Linked DNA regions of Homo sapiens: all the other regions are linked to region 3. Evidence: promoter capture Hi-C in human tissues and cell types (Jung and others, 2019). All regions are on one chromosome and are shown on one strand. The core of a region is centred on a gene start or on the middle of the fragment in contact, and the rest is flanking DNA. Distances in the headings are between cores, read along the strand shown. Region 1 holds the start of EFR3A (EFR3 homolog A). Region 2 overlaps LOC107986976 (a long non-coding RNA gene). Region 3 holds the start of ADCY8 (adenylate cyclase 8). Region 4 has its middle 82 kb from the start of EFR3A.

What was found. The method cuts DNA at HindIII sites, captures the fragments that hold promoters and counts their contacts. A contact is called where the count stands out against the background at its distance.
Region 1: the fragment with the promoter of EFR3A here is called in contact with the fragment with the promoter of ADCY8 in region 3 in 2 of the 25 tissues and cell types used here (mesendoderm cells and thymus).
Region 2: a fragment that was not itself captured here is called in contact with the fragment with the promoter of ADCY8 in region 3 in 2 of the 25 tissues and cell types used here (H1 embryonic stem cells and dorsolateral prefrontal cortex).
Region 4: a fragment that was not itself captured here is called in contact with the fragment with the promoter of ADCY8 in region 3 in 1 of the 25 tissues and cell types used here (dorsolateral prefrontal cortex).

What each region holds. Positions count from the first base shown.
Region 1 is chr8:131,902,550-131,908,389 of GRCh38, forward strand. EFR3A (EFR3 homolog A) reads left to right here and starts at 1,544. Exons shown (of 23, transcript NM_015137.6): 1 at 1,544-1,773. The coding sequence starts at 1,764. RefSeq lists a silencer at 1,441-1,920 and an enhancer at 2,491-2,540. The HindIII fragment of the contact is 11,078 bases long and covers 1-5,840 here.
Region 2 is chr8:131,872,083-131,877,911 of GRCh38, forward strand. It overlaps LOC107986976 (a long non-coding RNA gene), which reads right to left. Exons shown (of 3, transcript XR_001746093.2): 2 at 5,302-5,428. Among named protein-coding and RNA genes, the nearest start is that of EFR3A, 29 kb to the right of the region's middle. The HindIII fragment of the contact is 6,814 bases long and covers 1-5,829 here.
Region 3 is chr8:131,038,824-131,044,132 of GRCh38, forward strand. ADCY8 (adenylate cyclase 8) reads right to left here and starts at 2,086. Exons shown (of 18, transcript NM_001115.3): 1 at 551-2,086. The coding sequence starts at 1,510. LOC105375760 (a long non-coding RNA gene) reads left to right here and starts at 707. Exons shown (of 6, transcript XR_928653.3): 1 at 707-787. RefSeq lists enhancers at 1,286-1,825, 1,826-2,364. The HindIII fragment of the contact is 7,762 bases long and covers 1,011-5,309 here.
Region 4 is chr8:131,819,261-131,825,082 of GRCh38, forward strand. No RefSeq gene overlaps it. Among named protein-coding and RNA genes, the nearest start is that of EFR3A, 82 kb to the right of the region's middle. RefSeq lists an enhancer at 809-1,310. The HindIII fragment of the contact is 4,930 bases long and covers 1-4,543 here.

The DNA of each region.
Region 1 (5,840 bases), core at 294-2,793, 860 kb after region 3:
GATGCAGTGAGAAAAGTGCTGTAGCAGAGAGGAATCAAGATAATGCCAAAGTCTTAGGGAGAAAACTGGAAGCATGAAAGATTTTATAGGTGATAAAATATGCAACAGGGCATTAAAACATGAATAAGCACTAGGTAGTTTGGTCTTTACTGTTAGCAAGGGACAGTCTCTCTTTTTTTTTTTTTTTTTTTGAGATGGAGTCTTGCTCTGTAGCCCAGGCTAGAGTCCAGTGGCCCGATCTCGGCTCACTGCAAACTCCGTCTCCTGGGTTCAAGCGATTCTCCTTCCTCAGCTTCCCAAGTAGCTGAGTGAGAATATAGGCATGTGCCACCACCCCCGCCTAATTTTTGCATTTTCAGTACAGACAGGGTTTCGCCATGTTGGCCAGGCTGATCTCGAACTCCTGACCTCAGGTGATCTGCCCACCGCCCACCTCGGTCTCCCAAAGTGTTAGGATTACAGGCGTGAGCCACCGTTCCCAGCTGGACAGTCTCTTTTATAGGTACAGTACACACTCTCCTCTCCCCAGCTGCCATGACTCACTCTAAATTACCCTTCATCCTCTCCCCAGCCTCTTTTAGGACTCCCCTAGGCTTTGCTAATTCAAATTCTGCTTTCTTCCAAGTCCACCTCAAGCCAAGACTAATTTCTCCTCAGCGCTTCCTAGCTCTGATCTTCATGTTCTTCATCTTCTCCTCCCAGTACTGCACAATATCATTTCTTAATCAGAAGGTTAGCCCTACTTTTTAGGACAAAGGTTCTCAGTATTATCATTGTATTTAAATCATCTGTATATGTGTTCGTAGATTTGGCTCAGCACCTAGGAATCTGCTTTTCAACAAGTCCCCAGGGGATCCAAGCACAAAAGGATCCTGGACCACTTTGACCCACTTTGAGGAAGGCTGTGTTAAACCTCTGCGGTTGGCTTTTATATCTCCATATGGGCTGTCCGCAGCCCACGGCGCCTAGCATAGTGTAGGTGCGTTGCTCAGCTCTCTGGCTCCCGGTGTCTGCTCAGCTTGGTGACTATTAGATACCTCAATTATTAATGACACCCAGAGTCAAGAAGAGTAGCTCAGCCAAGTGCACAGAGCTGCCCTCTCCAGAGGAGACTAACTCCTGAGGGATAAGGTCGCTCTGAAAGTCACAAGAGCAAAAGGAAATTACATTTTCTGCCCTCTCAAAAAATGAGCAGCCATCACCCCAAATGACCTTAGTGCATCTCAAATAAACCATGCTTTCAGAGTATGCAAAACGCACTGCAAGTTAAACCGATTGCAAAAGAAAAAGCCCACAGGTACTCCGTGCGCTCAAAGCCATCATCCTCACAAACGTAAAGTGATGCACTCCAAATAGAGATCAAGGAAAACGAATGCCACGCAGGTCACCAGGCTTGGAAAATAGAAGGCACCCGAAGTTGTTCTACGTGGCTGTCCCCAGCCACCCATTCCACCCGCTCGACAAGGGATCCTGGGCCGAGCCCGGCCATCCGCGGGGGCGGGGCCGGGACGGCGGCGGCGCGCTGACGTAACGGGCGTGGGTCGTCCGTCGCGCCGCCCGGCGAGGAGTGGGCTGGCGGCGGTAGCTGTCGCCCGCTTGGTTGCGTGACCGCGGGGTCCGCGTCCGCTCCCTCCACCCTTCGCCCTTCGCCCTTCGCCTCGTTCCGGCCTCCGCGGCCCAGCAACGGCCGTCATGGTGCCGTCGGCGCTCCCTGCGCGGCCCCGCTGAGCCTCGGTGCGGCGGCGAGCGCGGTCGAGATCGCCATGCCTACCCGTGAGTGGCCGGCCGAGGGCCGGGGGCGTTGGGAGGCGACTGCCTGCGCGACGCGCTTGGGCCGGGTACTCCTCCCGGGCGGCTGGGGAGGCTGGGCCGCGCTGAGCAGAGCCAGGAAGTGTCTGCGAGCGGCGGAGTTAGTTTCGTTTCGGCTTAGCCTTCCGGAGATGGCGTGAGCCCGTTGCACGGATCGGGAAACTGAGGCCCGAACGTTAAGGGAACTGCGGGGACGCGCTGTTAGGAGGCGGCAGAGCTGGTGGTAACCTGACCCGTGGGATTTCAAAGTTAAAGCCCTTTTCCCACGGCCACACGGCTTCGTGGGACTTTATGGAAATATTGAAAATAACTGCGGTACCATTGTCAGTCCCTTCTCACCTCGGGCCGGACGTCGCTAGTGGACGCGCCGGCCCCGAGTCCCTTCCCGCGGCCGCCAGACAGACCCCCGACAGCCTAACTCGGCGTCCGTATCGCCGTCGGGGCGGCTGAAGTCGGAGCTTTCTGTGGAGCTTGTTAGGCAGAGGCACCTCGACTGTGGCTTTTGGACCACACTTCGGATTCACCCGGGCAGATGATTAAAAATGCCGGTTTCGGGACCCGCCCTATTCCCATGGAATTAGTCTGGAGCTTGGGCCCCGGAGTCTGCATGTCTAATAAGCGTCCCTGGGGTTACCAAGGCACCCCAAAGTTTAAAAGTCACTCGGTGTTGGAGGATTTTTAGACAGACGCGATACTACAAGTACTGCTAATGACCTATTTTAAAATGACCCAGATAATCGCAGTGTGACTTTATAGCCACTGGTCAATGTGGATATGTGCAAACTAGGGAAGCTCCTGATCTTGGGTAGAGAGGAAGCAACTTTGTCATTGATTTGAGAATTCAAGTAGGACTCCTTTGACTAAGTGTTCAATACTATAGAATCTTTACACACTTGTGAATATATTTCCTAGAATTCATAACTACTTCTAGTTGTCCTTGTTTTGTAGCCATCTGGGACGCTGAATTTCCAGGTCAGTCTCCAATGCACGTTTCGTCTAGTGGTGGGAAAAGATGAGTTATTTCTTGATATTATAAAGATTGATATTTTCCTGATATTTAAGGATATTAAATTTAAATTGATATTAAAGATATTTAAATATCTTTTTGAGATTTAAAGATTTTCCTGTGGCAAATCTTTACATAGTCCTGATGTAGAGATTACTTTTAACTCCTCATACATGTGTGGGTACTGTGGATTTTGTTTTCTTCACACACTACTGTGTGTCCTTAACTCACGTTCTTGGACTTCGCATCCAGTAAATATGTCCAGTTTAAATTTCTGTTTTATTCCTTTTGGCTGGAGGAATATCATTTACAATCATCTTCATTGTTATTGCCAGTTTAGTACTTCTAAATTCATGTTCACGTTATTCAGTGAATATCTGAGACTAGCACTATGCTAATCTTTTATTTTCTGAGAAACCAAAGGGGAGGAGGTAAGCACCTATTGAAAGTTGAGGCTTCAAGTAGAATTTATTGGTAACATGCCAGAATTATCCTGTGAAATAAAATTTTTAGTTATGTTCTAGGGTTATCTAGCTTCACAGAGTGGATATAGTAAACTCGTTTCTTTTCAAATGTTGAGTTCATTCTGCAAAATGATTTTAGGATGGGCCATGGTGGAGTTTACATAGTTAAGAATGCAGATTTCACACCCTGACTGGAAGACAAGTGAAATGTTTGTTTTATCTGTCATTGTTAATATTTGTCATGGTACATTTTTTATGACTGAATAAAAATGTGCTGTGGATTGATTGGGGGTACCAGTGTGAGGTGAATAGTGTTCATATTTGCCTTTTCTCTCCTTTGGCAGTCACAGCTGCCGAAATTGCTGGGATAGTGCAGTGGACAACAATATTTCTTTGAAATTCTGTTTGTAGAATATATATCCAACACAGAGATGGCAAAATTGTTATTCTCTGTAGGAATTTAGGAGGAAGTTCACAGCTCTTAGGAGGAAAACTGTGCTCAGATAAGCTAAGTGTTTTTGTTTGATTGGTTGTTTTAATGTTAAATGGTTGAGAGGCTTAGTGATAAGCCCAAGCCAGTTAATCCGTACGAGTTTTAATTAAAATCAAAGGGTTGGAGGTGATCACTGTGGTCTCTCAGACTCTACAATTCCGAGAGCAACCCTTGCTGTAAGTCATAGAATTATTCTACTCTTGCTATTTTGTTGCTTATTTGGAATATTGGTACTCATTGAAACTGTTGTTAATAACTAGAATCCAGTGAAGCATGCAGTAACCCCACTGGTTAAGCAATGATATATCTCATGAATATTAACAGCCACTTCACTAGAATTATTTTGGAGATCCGTAGACTCTTTGAGAAAGCAACCACCTGGAAGGATGCCTGACAGGAAACTGCCAGGACACAGAAACAATTTTGTGGTCGTGTTACAAGCCTGTAGTCTGAAACAATCCTTAGGCACAGATTTCAAGACTATGCTGCTGAATGCTGTTGCAAACCTGTAAACCTATAATTTGACACATCATTTTTCTAGAGGCCTTTATTTCATTCTCCATTCAAAGGACCATTAAGAAGCGTTTTATTTGAAAGATTTTCAAACTCTGAATCGGAGTTTGAGTTGGAACGACTGTTAAAGCTTCTTCATCATTTTATGTTGTGTATCGGGAAGCTGAGCCTTCTGAGAGTTTCCATGGAGTAAAACCATGACTTGAACACAGAACTGGCCCCTATAATCAGTAACCACAGTGAGCATAGTAACATTAATTTTTCTCTAGCACTAAATTGATAATAGTTTAGCCTTTTTTTCCCCTTGAGTTACATTAAGACAAATGTAAGCTTGGTCAAAAATTTAAATCGTTCTGTGAACTTACAAGAATGCATTTGCTTCCATCCTGTCACAGAAATCTTTGGAAAAGCTGTGGATATCACTGGTGTGCTAAGTAGATTCTTGTTTATATAGACACAAACTTAAACTTTTAGTAAACTCCTTATGTGAAAATGGCTCCTGAGTTCACAGATAACTTGCCTCAAAACAGGTCCGGTAAAATGTGCTCTTTTATTTTATATGAAAAGTTATTCTATATTTTCTAGGGAAAACCAAAACTCTCAAATATTGTTTGCTGTTAAACTATACTTTGAGTAATTATGTGTGTTGAATGCTTTCTTTTCTCATTTAGGTACTGACGTTGAGGTCTAGGCAAATTTCTTAGGCTGTAATAATAATATGGTTACTCCATGTTTGTTTTTCTTTTGATGAGGCTAATTACATTTAACTTATTTTTTAATTTATTTTTATGAAAGAAATGCAGAATGAATTATAAAAGAGGGTTGCTGATTGAAGTGTTTTCCTTTTAGAGACACATTACATGCAAACTTGACCTACACTTTCATATTACTGGATTATTAGCCTTTTGTGTTCATTCATATTCTCATTCTTTCTCTCCCCTTTTCCCCTCTTCCCCCCTTTCCTCATTGTCCCTTTGCTTCCTTCTCCCCTCCCCTCCCATCTCCCTCCTTCCTCCCTTCTTCTACCCACCACCTATGTGTCCTGCCAGAGTTGTAGCTGATGAATTTTCTTTTTTGCAGTGACCTTTGGCTTGACACTGCCCTGTTTGCTGCCCAGATCTCATCTTTCAGTCTGTCCCCACTTGTGGGGACATGGGGCTACATTAATGATTATGTAGGTGGTAGGAGATAATGCTGGAGAAAGAGAAAGCCAGAATTTGAGGTTTTTTTTTTTTTCTTTTTTTGAGAGGGAGTCTCGCTCTGTCGCCCAGGCTGGAGTGCAGTGGTGAGATCTCTGTTCACTGCAACCTCCAAATCCCGGGTTCAAGCAGTTCTCCTGTCTCAGCCTCCCTAGTAGCTGGGACTACAGGCATGTGCCACCACGCCCGGCTAATTTTTTGTATTTTTAGTAGAGATGGGATTTCACCGTGTTAGCCAGGATGGTCTCAATCTCCTGACCTCGTGATCCACCCGTCTCGGCCTCCCAAAGTGCTGGGATTACAGGTGTGAGCCACCGCTCCCGGCCATTTGAGGGGTTTTATATGCTCTCGCAATC
Region 2 (5,829 bases), core at 1,429-3,928, 830 kb after region 3:
ATCTGACAAAGGGCTAATATCCAGAATCTACAATGAACTCAAACAAATTTACAAGAAAAAAACAAACAACCCCATCAACAAGTGGGCGAAGGACATGAACAGACACTTCTCAAAAGAAGACATTTATGCAGCCAAAAAACACATGAAAAAATGCTCACCATCACTGGCCATCAGAGAAATGCAAATCAAAACCACAATGAGATACCATCTCACACCAGTTAGAATGGCAATCATTAAAAAGTCAGGAAACAACAGGTGCTGGAGAGGATGTGGAGAAATAGGAACACTTTTACACTGTTGGTGGGACTGTAAGCTAGTTCTACCACTGTGGAAGTCAGTGTGGTGATTCCTCAGGGATCTAGAACTAGAAATACCATTTGACCCAGCCATCCCATTACTGAGTATATACCCAAAAGACTATAAATCATGCTGCTATAAAGACACATGCACACGTATGTTTATTGTGGCACTATTCACAATAGCAAAGACTTGGAACCAACCCAAATGTCCAACAATGATAGACTGGATTAAGAAAATGTGGCACATATACACCATGGAATACTATGCAGCCATAAAAAAGGATGAGTTCATGTCCTTTGTAGGGACATGGATGAAATTGGAAACCATCATTCTCAGCAAACTATCACAAGGACAAAAAAACCAAACACTGCATGTTCTCACTCATAGGTGGAAATTGAACGATGAGAACACACGGACACAGGAAGGGGAACATCACATTCTGGGGACTGTTGTGGGGTGGGGGGAGGGGGGAGGGATAGCATTAGGAGATATACCTAATGCTAAATGACGAGTTAATGGGTGCAGCACACCAGCATGGCACATGTATACATATGTAACTAACCTGCACATTGTGCACATGTACCCTAAAACTTAAAGTATAATAATAATAAAATAAAAAATAATAATAAAAAATTTTTTAAAAATCCCTAATACGGAGAGTCCTGTAAGGTTTTAATTAGACCCAACTTTGTTAAGCCTGGAATGGGAAGAGAATAATGAGCTTCTACTTTGGGAGGTTATGATAATCAGAAATTCTGACAATACTGATTTACTGCAAGGCACAAGAAAGGCCTGGTCTCAGATGGTGGAGTGGAAGGGCATGCAGTTGCAATCTCTGTGAAAAGGGATTAGGTGCTTGGTCAACACACTAAATCTGTGTGCAAGAGCTCAAGATCACTCCAGTCTATAGGAATGCAGACATTTTTTTTCCCATCTTCTTTGGTATTAAAAAATAAATAAATCCTCTCATTGATACAGTGGGAAAGAATTTCAGAGGACATGTGACCTACATCCCTTTTTCAACCAATGGGGTTGAAGCAAAGAAGGGTTTTCTAAAGTTCAGTAAATTAAATAGACCCACGAGAAGGCAAATAGCTTTTTTCTACTTTTAGTTGTTGAAAAAATAGAACAAATTAGCAAATTATGAAAAAAATTAAAAATCAAATTCTACCGTCTTAGTAGTTTCATTTCATCTATGTAGGCATAAAGATTTTTGAAGTTGGGATGAGAAAGATGGATGATTTCCAGAGATTTATTTTATTTTATTTATTTAATTTTATGTTTTATTTTTATGACTACATCAAAGCTTTTATTTTCAATAGAGTTGATATGATTTGATCATAAGACTGGATGTGGCAACAGAAGATAGGGATTGAAGATTCCCAAGAATCTGATGTGGGTAACTGGGCAAACACCTTACGTAAACACCATCAGCCCAAGGAACAAATCAGAATCTCATTTTCGCAAACTATTCTTAGTGAATACTTGGCTATGTGAGTCCACCAATAGGTTCTACCAATAGACGCACTGGTTCAAGATGTCTATTCAAAAGTGAACAATGGGAGGCAGCCACCAGGACATAGAATTCCTTTTCCCAGAGGTCTGGGAGTGAAGTAGCAGAGGTTCAAGCGTACAGAGGCTAGCATCCTGTGTCCATGTCCAGGCTTGACATCAATGAGGTCTACTGTATCAGCCTTGCATTGTGTTTTAGGGAATAATTCTTGAAAATGAAGCTTTCAAACCTGATTCTTTTGATTTCCTTGGGAGTTCCTAAGTTACTTGTTACTGTAATACATTTCTTTTCTGCTCAAGGATACTAGAAGGGTATGATAACTGATCTCCAAAGATGGCCCTCTGTGAGCCTTACCTCCCAGTATCCGCAACCTTGTGCTGAACCCTCCTCTTGAATCTGGGTTGGCCCTGGGATGCACTCACAGCTGAATGTAGTGCAGTGATGCTGTGCCTTTCGTGACTGAGTCATAGGTAATCTTAAGCTTCCGCCTGTGCTCCTTGAAATGACGGCTCTTTGGAAGCTCTCATTTGGAACCCAGCTGCCATGCTGTCAGAAACTCAAGCCACCATCCCACTCCCTCCTCCTAGGAGTTGGAATTTTTTAGATTCCATATGTAAGTGTGATCATAAAAGATATTTGTCTCTCTGTGCCTGGCTTATTTCACTAGTGTAATGTCCTCTAGGTTCATCTATGTTGTTAAAAAGGACATAATTTCTCATTTTAAAGGCTGAATAGTATGCTATTGTGCATACATATTACATTTAAAAAATCACTCGTCCATTGATGGACACTTACGTTGTTTCCATATCTTGACTATTGTGAATAATGCTGCAATGAACATGGATGCAGAAATATTTTCAACACACAGATTTCAATCCCTTTGGGTAGAGACCCAGAAATGGGATTGCTGGATCATGTGGTAGTTTTAGTTTTAGTTTTTTGAGGAACCTACATACTGTTTTCCAAAATAGCTGTACTAATTTGTAATATCATCAACATCCTACAAGGATTCCCTTTTCTCTACATCACTTGTTATCTTTCCTCTTTTTGATATCAAAAGCTGGGAAAGTGAGGTGAACAGGGAGAAAGGAGAAGTTACTCAACTAGTACAAAGTTTCAGATCAAAAGGAGGAATAAATTCTAGTGTTTCACTACACAGCATGGTGACTATAGTAATAATGTATAATTCAAAATAGCTAAAAGAGAGGATTTAAATGTTCTCACCACAAAGAAATGATAAATATTTGAGGTGATGGGCATGCTAATTTACTTGATGTAATCATTCCACAATTGATACATTTATCAAAACATCACATTGTACTCTATAAATACATAGAATTATTATGCATCAATTAAAATAAAATAAAACTAATGAAAAAGAGAAACAAGCCACATGGAGAAACTATGTATAATGTCAGGACAAATGCAAATTAAAAGTAAGAGGCTTAATTCTCCCTATTGAAAATAAGGGAATAAATTTCCCTCCCCATCTTTTCATAGCATTTCCTTTGGAAAAACCTGTCATTTTAAATACTTTCTCCTTCTTTGAGGGGATAAGTCCTTTTTTCTAGATAAATTGTTTTAAAGACTAGGTAGGCCTTTTCTCAGCAGTATGATCCAGTAATACCTTCCTCTAGGGACTGGGAGCCATCTCTTTGAAATGGAACATCAAGGGAGACAGCACCCCTACCTCCCAATTTCTGTGAGAGAATAGTAATCTAACTTTGGTGGGTATCTTGATCCAAGTTGCAAAACACCTCCTATTACAGAGATATAAGAAGTTAGCTACCACAAATGGTCGCCCGATTACCAGGTAAAGTCAGGATGAACTAAATATGACATATGGTACTGTCAAGTCGTCTTACTTGATGGCTAGTTATTGTTTATCTTGAAAACAAGCATGCAATGGGTGATATTTGCTTGGCTATATAAAAGGGTGAGATGTTTTTTCCGTCTTTGCAGTGTCTTAGTGGACTGCCTGTGATGTGCATTGTATTCTGGTTTAATGTTTATTCAATAATAAAACTTTTATTTATCTACTACTTTTGTGGACAGATTTTCTGTGTTGGGAAAATAAATTTGTTTTAAATTATGCTTCCCCAAAAGTAGATGCCCTGTGTCAGCCCCAGTGGAGGTCCCAGATGACAGCCAGTATCAACTGTCAGCCATGGAGTGAGCAGTCCTGACATCCAGTCCCGTGAGCCCTCAGATGACTGCAGCCCCAGCCCACATCTGACTGCAGCCCCAGCCCACATCTGACTGCAGCTATGTGAGACCCTGCAAGCCAGAAATGCCCAGCTGAACCCAGTCAATCATAGAACCATGAAAGATAACAACCAATTATTGTTTTAGGCCACTATGTTTTGAGGTCACTTATTACACAGCAAGAGATAACCAAAACAAATGACTCGTTCTTGCAATTAAGAACTCTGGCTGATACATATAAACTTTCCTCTCCTTGGTGAAAAGTATCCTGAGAAATGAGAGTGCTTTCCACCTCTGAATTCCCCCATTGAAACTGGTGTTATTTTCTTTACAGAGTAGTTGCTAATAATTTTTTTTTTTTTTGCTTACATCTCTTTTTGGACAGATTGGGATTTAAACAAAATAAAAACAAGTTGGATGCAATGCTTGTCAGTTGAACAGAATATTTTTATCTAACAACTGCCTCTACAAAGCATTTGCTTCTGTTTGTTTACACACTCTGCAAATAATTTTCCTACAGTTTAAAGCCAATACACAGGAAATTGTGTTTAGAAAGTGCCAAGGCATTTTCAAAACCATTTTCAAGCTCTTCCCTTGGTTCATTGGGCATTTCAACGCTTATGCTCATTTCAGGGGACACGATTTTGGGCTTCTGTGCCCACCTTTCTTCCATTTTAACGGTATAATGAAAAGCTCCCTATTTCTTCACCATAGGGACCTTTTTCATAAGCATCCACTGAACACTGTAAAGACTGAAATGAAATGAGTAGGCACAAAAAAAAATGCTATCTGGAGGGATTCATTGTTCCCTTTCTCTGGAGCGTCAGCTTGTGCATGTAACAATCATTGGATTATGTTTCTGCAGATGCATATTGTCTCCTGCAGTTTGACTTTCCCATTCCCCTGACAGATTACTGACTCCGAAGGTTTGAAGATGAAAGCAATTCAGACATAATCTTCATGCTTTTTCAGGATTGGCAGATGCCTTTTAGTTGAGATTTAAATTGAACTTTGGAAATTTAAAGCTGCTTTCCTTAGCTGATCTGGATCTTTCCTAATGTGATTACTCCTCAACTGAGATGCTCTGGAAGCATGGGCTCAAAGCATCAATTTCCCATCCTTCCTCACGACCATTTTTAAAAGCTGCACGTGACAGGAATCAGCCGACCAGCCATTTACAGAGAAAAGATTGTTGTAAAGGAAATATATTGAATGAAAACCAGACTGCAAAGTCTATTCCAGGCAACTACCTCATGTCTGGCTTGCTGCAATCTCTGACTTACCTCCGTTATCCATGCAGCTTCGGAAAATGACCTCATGACAGGGAGTAAAAAGTACTTGAGCAATTTAGAAAAGTAAGATGAGCAAGTGAGGTCAGGGAGAATTCATTCACAGTGTCAGCAACCTTATCTGAAACAAGACAAAATGTTAGTATGTATCTCCCAGAGTTGACAGAAAGCCTAAAAATGATAAGCACTTAGGTAATAGCCATAGCATTGTGTCTGGCTCCTTGTAAAGCACTGAATCAATTTTGCCTTTCAGTATTGCCATGTCCAGGATAACAAATGGGAGCAATGCATTCTGCATTGTGCACTATGCTTTTTTTTTTTAATTATACTTTAAGTTCCAGGGTACATGTGCACAACGTGCAGGCTCGTTACATAAGTATACATGTGCCATGCTGGCCCCTGCACCCATCAACCCGTCATTTACATTAGGTATTTCTCCCAGTGCTATCCCTCCCCCTGCCCCCCACACCAGGACAGGCCCCAGTGTGTGATGTTCCCCTCCCTGTGACCAAGTGTTCTAAT
Region 3 (5,309 bases), core at 836-3,335:
TGTTTGAAGGATTGGATGACATAACACGTACAGTACTCAGCACTGACAATCAGTATGTGTTTAACAAATGTATGTTCCTTTGAGAACTGAGGGTTTGTGGCTTAGAGATACGGAAAAACCCAACTCTGAAGCCCAGAGCCTGCTACAACACCCTGCTGCGACTCTCCTGAGGAGAGATGTTAAGGAATGGGTCACCTTCTAAATCTGGATGCTTCTCCTCCCCTTCTGTCTCCTGCTCCGGAGACTGCAGACCCTGAGGGAGGGGAATGAGGAGCAGAAAGCAGACTTTCTTAGCTGATGTCAGAGTAGAATTACTCATAGAATCAGAGTAGAAGGGTAGAGTTGGTAGAAACTTTTAGAGGTCATTTAGTTCCACTTTAAGAAGAGATTGCATTCCGCTAACACTCAAGACCTCCTAGGTACAAGGCACTGTGCCAGACTGAAGGCGGAGACTTAAAGAGAGTGAGGCAACCCTGGCTCTCTGGAAGCTATATGATCAATAACCCGGGGAAGTTAGAGGGGAAACAAATGCAAGGCAGGCAGGAGTTACCTGGTTGATGGAAATGACCGCCAGCCGGGGTATGACCACTTGGAGGATGACCTGCAGCAGCGAGGTGCCCAGGCCGGCCAGGATGGCCCAGGTGAGCGGCAGCGGCAGCATACTGTAGGTGGCGAAGAGCGTGAAGAGCACGTAGCCTATGCCGTCGCCCAGGAGCCCGTAGCCGAGGCCTGCTGCCAGGATCTGGGTGGTCATGGCCACCCAGGTGACCACGCCGCTGTACTGCAGGTACGTGTGGGAGGTGGTGTCCTTCCTGACCACCACCAGGGCGCAGATCACTACCTCAATGCCGGTGAAGAAGCCCAGCAGGATGCCCTTGAGCGGGTCCATGGGGGCCGAGGCCAGGCTCAAGTGTAGGACCAAGAGAGTGAGTTTGGTCAGCACGTCCAGCACGTTCATCACCACTTCCGATTTGCGCCTTTGGCCCAAGAAATAGCGCTGGTAGAGGCGTTCCAAATCCCGAGATTTGAAGGAGTTGCGCAGGGTGGGGAAAATGACCCCTCGGTAGCTATAGCCCCCATTAAGAAAGAAATCCGAGTTGCTAGGGGCACAGTCAAGGTGCAGGAAGCCCAGGTCGCCCCCGCCTCCGCTGCCGCTGGCACTGCCGCTCCCGCTGCGTTCCGGGAAGACTTTGGTGCCGCAGGTGCTGTGCGCTCGCTCTCCCGGGCCCAGCGAGTAGAGGGGCAGCGCCGAGTCGCCTGACAGCTGCGGCGCGTGGTGGTTGGGGCCGCCGCCCGCAGGGTCCGAGGCTTTGCCCGAGCCTCCACTCCCGCTGCCGCTGCCTCCCCGGTGCCCGTGAATGAAGCGCTGCTCCGTGATGTGTCGCACCGCCGTCTGCCACAGCAGCCGCTGCGGCCGGGAGGCGCTCCTGCCGTCGCCGGCCGGGGGCGTCGGGTGGATGGTGTAGAGTTCCTCGCTGCCTGTAAGGCAGCGCACATCGGAGAGCTCCATGGCTCTGGGCCGCAGGGAAGGAGGCCCAGAACCTTGGGGAGGCAGCCGGAGGAGGGGTTCCTAAAGACTCAAAGGCGGCCTGGTAGGAGCTTGGCAAGGATCCTTTTTATCCTAGGCTGCCCCGTTGCAGGAGCCCTGCGCTAGGGCTCCCTGTAGGTCGGGTCATACTGTGCCCAGGGGCAAAGGGCACCTGGAAGATCGCGGCGGACCTCGGCGTCCTTGCGTGCTGCTCTCCCGCCAGCCGGCGCAGCTTGGGTACGCAGCGGCAGTGGCTATTTGTCCTCAGGAGCCGCAGCGCTGTGAGCCACGCAGCCCCTTCCTGGGCTCAGGCTCCTTGGTTGATTCTAGGCTCAGCGTTTTGGCGCAGCCTTTGCTCTCCAAGAGACGCCTAAGCGCCTGGGCGCCGTGCTTCTGCTGCGCGTCGGGCGGGTCCTGGCTGCTGCACTGGGCTTTGGACGCCCACTGCTCCGCGGCTGCAGGGGGCCTGGCCGGCGGTGACCGGCGGCAGCGATGGGTGCGAAGTTAGCAGATGTGGCTGGAATCATCGCCCTTCGGAGAACTCCATTGCGCCGGGATGGGGAGCAGGGGCGGAGCTGGGGGCGGGGGCAAAGAAGGAGGAGGAGGGGGTCACGGTGAGGTGGCGGGGCGCCCCGCGACAGGGTTGGAGAGGTGGTAGCCTCGGCGCTAACAATTCACCAAATAGTTAATTTGGAGGAAGGGGTATGCTGAGGCTCCCTCCTAGGCTCTTTCCTAGTTCGGGAGCAAGGACTGACAGCGCAGCGCTGGCTCTGGCCAGAAGCATCCCTCCCGGAGGGGGTGTGGGGACTCTCGCTCCAGGGTCCCAGCCTGAGCTATAAGACGAGGTCAACGCTTTCAGCTGTGCTTTCGAAGGGTCGCAGCACACAGTTCTCATCCCCTTTATTTCGTTCTTTGGAGTCCATTTGGCTCGGAGCTAGGAGGATCAGGAGAGGCGGGGGAAGGAAAAAGTGGTGAGGGCTCCAAAGCCAAGAGCTCCGAGAACGAAGAGAAGCCGCCGGTGCGGATATCTGAGGCTGAGAACCGAAGCTTGGCGGATGAGGCGAAGGTTTGGAGGAGAAGGGAGGCCCGAGGCCGCGTGGAAGTCGACAGAGACGCCTCTGGATCTAGGGAAGCGCCGCCGCGTGCCACCCTGGAGCTCTGAAACGCACCGCGGGCGCCAGGCGACTGGGAGAAATTTGGAGACCTGTCAGAGTGGTCAGACACCCGCGGTGACTTAAACCCGCCCCCGCGCCAAGCCACGCCCCCGGAACCGGGCCGGGGGTGGCGGAGGGACCTGCCATCCAGATCTGGCCAGGACGCCCCAGGTCTTGTAGGCAGAGGCACGCGCGGGCCGGCGTGGGAGAGGACCACTGAGGGCTAGGGCCGGCGGGCGCCCCCGGCCTTCCCTGGGCGCACTGCGATCCAGCGTTCCAGCTGGCCGCGCCAGCCGGTTCCTCCGCTGTTCTTTTTTAGGCATTGGCTCTTGTCCTCTGCAGGTGCGGAGCCAGGACTCGTAGGCCGCTTTGCGCACGGACTCGGAGAGCCCAGCGCGACGGAATACAGGGTTTCCTTTTCGCCCTTCCTACCCGTGCGTCTTTTGGCAAAGCCAACTTTCGGGCTAAACGCAAAATCCCCCAAGAGGCCGCAATCATAGAGGCAGTCAGTTTCCTACAGGAGCCTCTTTACTACCTCGATCCGAAGGGGGTGGAGGGTACGGGACATCAAAATGGGGACGTCCCCTGCCTGCCTCGCACACTAAGTTTCTCCGCTTACAATAGGGTCGAGGAGGCGGACGTGGAGAAAGGCATGTCCAGGGGCCCCGCCTCGCCCTAGCCCAGGTTTCCCGCCCGCCCAGACTCAGCCGAGCGCTAGCGGACAAAGCCTGCGGCGGAGCTTGCGGCGGACCAAGTCGCTGAGCGGTGGGAGCTTAGTGCCGGTGCTAATGACAGATGAGCCGCGTCCCGGGGTGCAGGGTCTGCAGGGCAAACGCGGCCGCCGCAGTCCCGCAGCCGGATGCAGGTGGAGGAGCGGTGGTGGTCACCACCTCCTCCACCAAGACTGCGGCTGCAGCCAGTGGAGCCCGGGCCCAGAGCACAGTCAGCTGATGGCCAATGACGTCAGGCCCTGGGCGCGTTCGCGGCTCCCCGTGGCGTCCCATGAAAGCCCAAATGACCGCCTTGCCTTGCCGCCCCCTCAGTCCCTCCTGAGCAAGAAGAGAAGCTCCCTTCCCTCCTGCCTGTCCTAAGGAAAAATAATTTCGATACCCCCACCCCCAACCACATACACTGTCTCCAGGGTTATTTCTGTCGGCCGTGTCCCAGAAACGCGGGGTTTAATTCTTTGCTTTTTAATTCCTGTTTTTCTCCCCACGCATTTCGGCTTCGGGTTAAACCCAAAACGGGCCACCTGCCTTGCACACAGAATTCCAGAAGGAAGAGAAAAGAATCCTCTAATATTCCCCCCAATCCCTAACCAGTAGATTTCTAGAATTTCGTTCACTCCCTGGAAAAGACTTCTTTAATTTCAATCCTTTTAAGTTGTATTCTACCATCCCCCAAGAAAGCCAAAATGAAACGCTCAACTTTAAATAGATAGACGGCTGATTCTATTTTTAACTCTGCTTGTAGATGAATTAATCTGTTAACATTAAAGATCTCCCAGAATAGTTGGCCTATCCCATGGGCCTGGAAGTTAAGGGTAAAAGTACCTCAAACAACTCTGTGTTACAGTTATCTAGCCCTTAATGAAATAACCCCTGCAATTACATTCCTGTCAAAGAAATGCTTCTTGCTTCTTCCTTCCTGAATTTCTTGGACTCATCAGCCTCACCCTACTGGAACTCGGGTGGGTAATGAGTCTCTTAACTTGAGATGGGAACCCAGACGGAGCACAGCTGGGAAGGCTGTCCTATAGACCCTATGCCAGAATGTGTGGGTAGCTGTGTCCTCTCTCTGCGGGCATTGCCCGAAGGCATCTGTGCTAATGACCATATTAGCAAACTTGGCAATGGAAGGCATCACTTTATTTTCTCACTTCTTTCTCCTTGGGGCCCTAAGGACTCAGCCTGAATAAATGAGGGGCTGGATGCAGTTGGAACTTTCCTATGAAAATCTTTCTCCAACCTGGACAGCTCCCAGGATGATTTATTCAGCAGCAAAAGGAGGCGGGCCAAGGAGGGGGAGATTGGACCCAATCAGATAAAATGACTCAGGCTGATGAATGAACACAGCATGCTACAGAAAGAAACTCAATTTCATGAACTCAGAGGTTGAAGCTAATGCATCAGGGAGAACACATCACATCTGTTCAACTGACTGAACGCTTCATGGCTGGAAGGGTGTTACCGTAGATTGTTTTAAAATAAGAACATGGATGACACAATTAGATTCCGATGTTCTTCTTGTTGGGATGACATAGTGCCATTCAGCCCAAGAAGCATTCTGTTTTTGAATGAAAGCATTGGTTCAACACAAATATTTAGAAGCTTTTTGGAATATGCAAACCACCAAATGATTAAGAGCCACTTAAAACAAGAGAAGTCGGCTGGGGGCGGTGGCTCACGCCTGTAATCCCAGCACTTCGGGAGGCCGAGGCCGGCGGATCACGAGGTCAAGAGAATGAGACCATCCTGGCCAACATGGTGAAACCCCCTATCTCCTAAAAATACAAAAACTAGCTAGGTGTGGTGGCGCATGCCTGTAATCCCAGCTACTCGGGAGGCTGAGGTAAGAGAATCACCTCAACTCGGGAGGCAGAGGTTGCAGTGAACCGAGATCACGCC
Region 4 (5,822 bases), core at 829-3,328, 780 kb after region 3:
GTTATGTTTATTGTATCAGTGATAAGAAAGGTACAATGTAAGTGTTATTCAATAAAAACATTAACATAAATGTGTGTTCAGAAAAAAAACTATTAAAAAGAAACACACAATGCATACAGTGAAAAATGTAGCCAATATAAACTAAAGCACAAAAAAGGAAAAACCTTAGCCACGTATTATCATACGAGAGTTTTTTGCTTTATCATTTCTACTATATAAAATAATCTAACACTTCTTTAAAACTAGGCTTTTAATTTTAGCTTGTGCTATCACTTAAAATGTAGGTGCCCTCATTCCCCTTCAAACATTTTAAATATTGATTCTTGCTTTTAGAAGGTTATAATTAACACATATGGAAATATAGACTTACCCATTATAAACCTTTAGAGATCCATAAATAAATATTTACTCTTATAGCATACAGTTGTTGTAAGCATTGAATAAGATTGTGTACCTGGCAAAAACCTGACCAAATGGAGGTGTTTCATCCATTTTAATTGTTGTTGTGGTTATCAGTTTTACTGACTTCTGTTTAATGTTGATGTCAGAAGCAATGTTTTATACATTAGATCTGTGATCCTCAACTGGGGGCAATTTTGACCCCCAGGAGATATTCAGTGATGTCAAAGATATTTTTGGTTGAGACGACTAGGTGCTGCTTCTAGCACCCAGTAAGTAGAGACCAGAGATGCTGCCAAACACCCTTCAATTCACAGACTAGCTCCTCACAGCAAAGAGTTATCCAGCCTAAATGTCAATAGTGTTAAGGTAGAGACACACTGCATCAGACCCAATAACCCCTATTCCTCGCATGGTTCCAAACAGAACACAAAGTATTGTCAATAAATGTTTGTGATTGAATAAATGAATAAGTGGATGAACAAAAGTAGTTACTGTTAGGCCTCTGAGCCCAAGCTAAGCCATCATATCTCCTGTGACCTGCACATACACATCCAGATGGCCAGTTCCTGCCTTAACTGATGACATTCCACCACAAAAGAAATGAAAATGGCCTGTTCCTGCCTTAACTTATGACATTATCTTGTGAAATTCCTTCTCCTGGCTCATCCTGGCTCAAAAGCTCCCCTGCTGAGCACCTTGTGACCCAACACCTGCCCACCAGAGAACAACTCCCTTTGACTGTAATTTTCCTTTACACTATGGGCAAGCTTCCGACCTCCATTCCCCCTTCTTCTCCCTTAGCTTGTGTTCTTAAAAACATAAAACCTCTTCAACTCACACCTGACCTAAAACCTAAATGCCTTATTTTCTTCTACAATGCCGCTTGACCCCAATACAAACTCGACAGTAGTTCCAAATAGCCAGAAAATGGCATTTTCAATTTTTCCATCCTACAAGATCTAAATAATTCTTGTCGTAAAATGGGCAAGTGGTCTGAGGTGCCTGACATCCAGGCATTCTTTTACACATTGGTCCCTCCCTAGTCTCTGTTCCCAATGCAACTAGTCCCAAATCTTCCATCTTTCCCTCCCGCCTGTCCCCTCAGTCCCAACCCCAAGCGTCGCTGAGTCTTTCTAATCTTCCTTTTCTACAGACCCATCTGACCTCTCCCCTCCTTGCCAGGCTGAGCTAGGTCCCGATTCTTCCTCAGCCTCTGCTCCTCCACCCTATAGTCCTTTTATCACCTCCCCTCCTCACACTTGGTCTGGCTTACAGTTTTGTTCCCTGACTAGCCCTCCCCCACCTGCCCAGCAATTTCCTCTTAAAAAGGTGGCTGGAGCTAAAGGCATAGTCAAGGTTAATGCTCCTTTTTCTTTATCCTAAATCAGATAGCGTTTAGGCTCTTTTTCATCAAATACAAAAATCCAGCCCAGTTCATGGCTCGTTTGGCAGCAACACTGAGATGCTTTACAGCCCTAGACCCTGAAAGGTCAGAAGGCCGTCTTATTCTCAATATGCATTTTATTTTATTACCCAATCTGCTCCCGACATGAAATAAAGCTCCAAAAATTAAATTCTGGCCCTCAAACCCCACAACAGGACTTAATGAACCTTGCCTTCAAGGTGTACAATAATAGAGTAGAGGCAGCCAAGTAGCAATGTATTTCTGAGTTGCAATTCTTTGCCTCCATTGAGACAAACCCCAGCCACGTCTCCAGCACACAAGAACTCCAAAAGCCTGAACCACAGCTGCCAGGGGTTCCTCCAGAACCTCCTCCCCCAGGAGCTTGCTACAAGTGCCAGAAATCTGGCCACTGGGCCAAGGAATGCCCACAGCCTGGGATTCCTCCTAAGCTGTATCCCAACTGCGTTGGACCCCACTGAAAATCGGACTGTCCAACTCACCTGGCAGCCACTCCCAGAGCCCCTAGAACTCTGGCCCCAGGCTCTGACTGACTCCTTCCCAGACCTTCTTGGCTTAGCAGCTGAAGACTGACACTGCCTGATCACCTCGAAAGCCTACAGGACCATCACAGATGATCTGGGTAACTCTCACAGTGGAAGGTAAGTCTGTCCTCTTCTTAATCAATACGGAGGCTACCCACTCCACATTACCTTCCTTTCAAGGGCCTGTTTCCATTGCCTCTATAACTGTTGTACGTATTGACAGCCAGGCTTCTAAACCTCTTAAAACTCTCCAACTCTGGTGCCAACTTAGACAACACTCTTTTAAGCACTCCTTTTTAATTATCACTCCTTTTTAATTATCAGCCCAGTTCCCTTATTAGGCGGAGACACTTTAACTAAATTATCTGCTTCCCTGACTATTCCTGGACTACAGCCACATCTCATTGCCACCCTTCTTCCCAATCCAAAGCCTCCTTTGCATCCTCCTCTTGTATCCCCCCACCTTAACCCACAAGTATCGGATACCTCTACTCCCTTCTTGGTGACAATGATGCACCCCTTACCATCTCATTAAAACCTAATCACCCTTACCCCGCTCAATGCCAATATCCCATCCCACAGCATGCTTTAAAAGGATTAAAGCCTGTTATCACTTGCCTCCTAGAGCATGGGCTTCTAAAACCTATAAACTCTCCTTCGAATTCCCCCATTTTACCTGTCCAAAAACCGGACAAGTCTTACAGATTAGTTTAGGATCTGCACCTTATCAACCAAATTGTTTTGCCTATCCACACCGTGGTGCCAAACCCATATACTCTCCTATCCTCGATACCTCCCTCCACAACCCTTTATTCTGTTCTAGATCTCAAACATGTTTTCTTTACTATTCCTTTACACCCGTCATCCCAGCCTCTCTTCGCTTTCACTTGGACTGACCCTGACACCCATCAGGCCCAGCAAATTACCTGGGCTGTACTGCCACAAAGCTTCACAGACAGCCCCTATTACTTCAGTCAAGCCCAAATTTCTTCCTCATCTGTTACCTATCTTGGCATAATTCTCATAAAAACACACGTGCTCTCCCTGCCGATCATGTCCAGCAGATCTCTCAAACCCCAACACCTTCTACAAAACAACAACTCCTTTCCTTCCTAGGCATAGTTAGATACTTTCACCTTTAGATACCTGGTTTTGCCATCCTAACAAAACCATTATATAAACTCACAAAAGGAAACCTAGCTGACCCCATGGATCCTAAATCCTTTCCCCACTCCTCTTTCCATTCCTTGAAGACAGCTTTAGAGACTGCCCCATCCTAGCTCTCCCTGACTCATCCCAACTCTTTTCATTACCCACAGCCGAAGTGCAGGGCTGTGCAGTCAGAATTCTTATACAAGAACCAGGACTGCATCCTGTAGCCTTTTTATCCAAACAACTTGACCTTACTGTTTTGCCTAGCCCTCAAGTCTGCGTGCGGGGGCCGCCACCGCCCTAATACTTTTAGAGGCCCTTAAAATCACAAACTATACTCAACTCGCTCTCTACATTTCTCATAACTTCCAAAATCTATTTTATTCCTCACACCTGACGTATATACTTTCTGCTTCCTGGCTCCTTCAGCTGTACTCACTCTTTGTTAAGTCTCCACAATTACCATTGTTCCTGGCCCGGACTTCAATCTGGCCTCCCACATTATTCCTGATACCACAACTGACCCCCATGACTGTATCTCTCTGACCCACCTGACATTCACCCCATTTCCCCATATTTCCTTCTTTCCTGTTCCTCACCCTGATCACACTTGGTTTATTGACGGCAGTTCCACCAGGCCTAATCGCCACACACCAGCAAAGGCAGGCTATGCTATAGTACAAGCCAGTAGCCCACCTCTTAGAACCTCTCACTTCCTTTCCATCGTGGAAATCTGTCCTCAAGGAAATAACTTCTCAGTGTTCCATCTGCTATTCTACTACTCCTCAGGGATTATTCAGGCCCCCTCCCTTCCCTACACATCAAGCTCGGAGATTTGCCCACACCCAGGACTGGCAAATTGACTTTACTCACATGCCCCGAGTCAGAAAACTAAAATATCTCCTAGTCTAGGTAGACACTTTTACTGGATGGGTAGAGGCCTTTCCTACAGGGTCTGAGAAGGCCACCGCAGTCATTTCTTCCCTTCTGTCAGATATAATTCCTCGGTTTGGCCTTCCCACCTCTATACAGTCTGATAACAGACCAGCCTTTATTAGTCAAATCAGCCAAGCATTTTTTCAGGCTCTTGATATTCAGTGAAACTTTTATATCCCTTAAGGTCCTCAGTCTTCAGGAAAGGTAGAATGGACTAATAGTCTTTTAAAAACACACCTCACCAAGCCCAGCCACCAACTTAAAAAGGACTGGACAATACTTTTACCACTTTCCCTTCTCAGAATTCAGGCCTGTCCTTGGAATGCTACAAGGTACAGCCCATTTGAGCTCCTGTATGGACACTCCTTTTTATTAAGCCCCAGTCTCATTCCAGACACCAGACCAACTTAGACTGTGCCCCAAAAAACTTGTCATCCCTACTATCTTCTGTCTAGTCATACTCCTATTCACCGTTCTCAACTACTCATATATGCCCTGCTCTTGTTTACACTGCCGGTTTACACTGTTTCTCCAAGCCATCACCGCTGATATCTCCTGGTGCTATCCCCAAACTGCCGCTCTTAACTCTTAAAGTAAATAAATAATCTTTGCGGGCAAGGCTATGCTGAACCTCCTTAGGCACTCTCTAATCAGATGTCCTAGGTCCTCCCAATTCTTAGTCCTTTAATACCGGTTTTTCTCCTTCTTTTATTCCGTTTAGTTTTTCAATTCATACAAAACCGTATCCAGGCCATCACTAATAATTCTACATGACAAACGTTTCTTCTAACAACCCCACAGTATCACCCCTTACCACAAAATCTTTCTTCAGCTTAATCTCTCCCACTCTAGGTTCCCACGCCACCCCTAATCCCGCTGGAAGCAGCCCTGAGAAACATTGCCCATTCTCTCTCCATACCACCCCCAAAAATTTTCACCACCCCAACACTTTACCACTATTTCGTTTTATTTTTCTTATTAATATAAGAAGACAGGAATGTCAGGCCTCTGAGCCCAAGCTAAGCCATCATATCCCCTGTGACCTGCATGTACACATCCAGATGGCTGGTTCCTGCCTTAACTGATGACATTCCACCACAAAAGAAGTGAAAATGGCCTGTTCCTGCCTTAACTGATGACATTATCTTGTGAAATTCCTTCTCCTGGCTCATACTGGCTCAAAAGCTCCCCTACTGAGCACCTTGTGACCCCCACTCCTGCCCGCCAGAGAACAGCCCCCCTTTGACTATAATTTTCCTTTACCTACCCAAATCCTATAAAATGGCCCCACCCCTATCTCCCTTCGCTGACTCTCTTTTGGGATTCAGCCCGCCTGCACCCAGGTGATTAAAAGCTTTATTGCTCACACAAAGACTGTTTGGTGG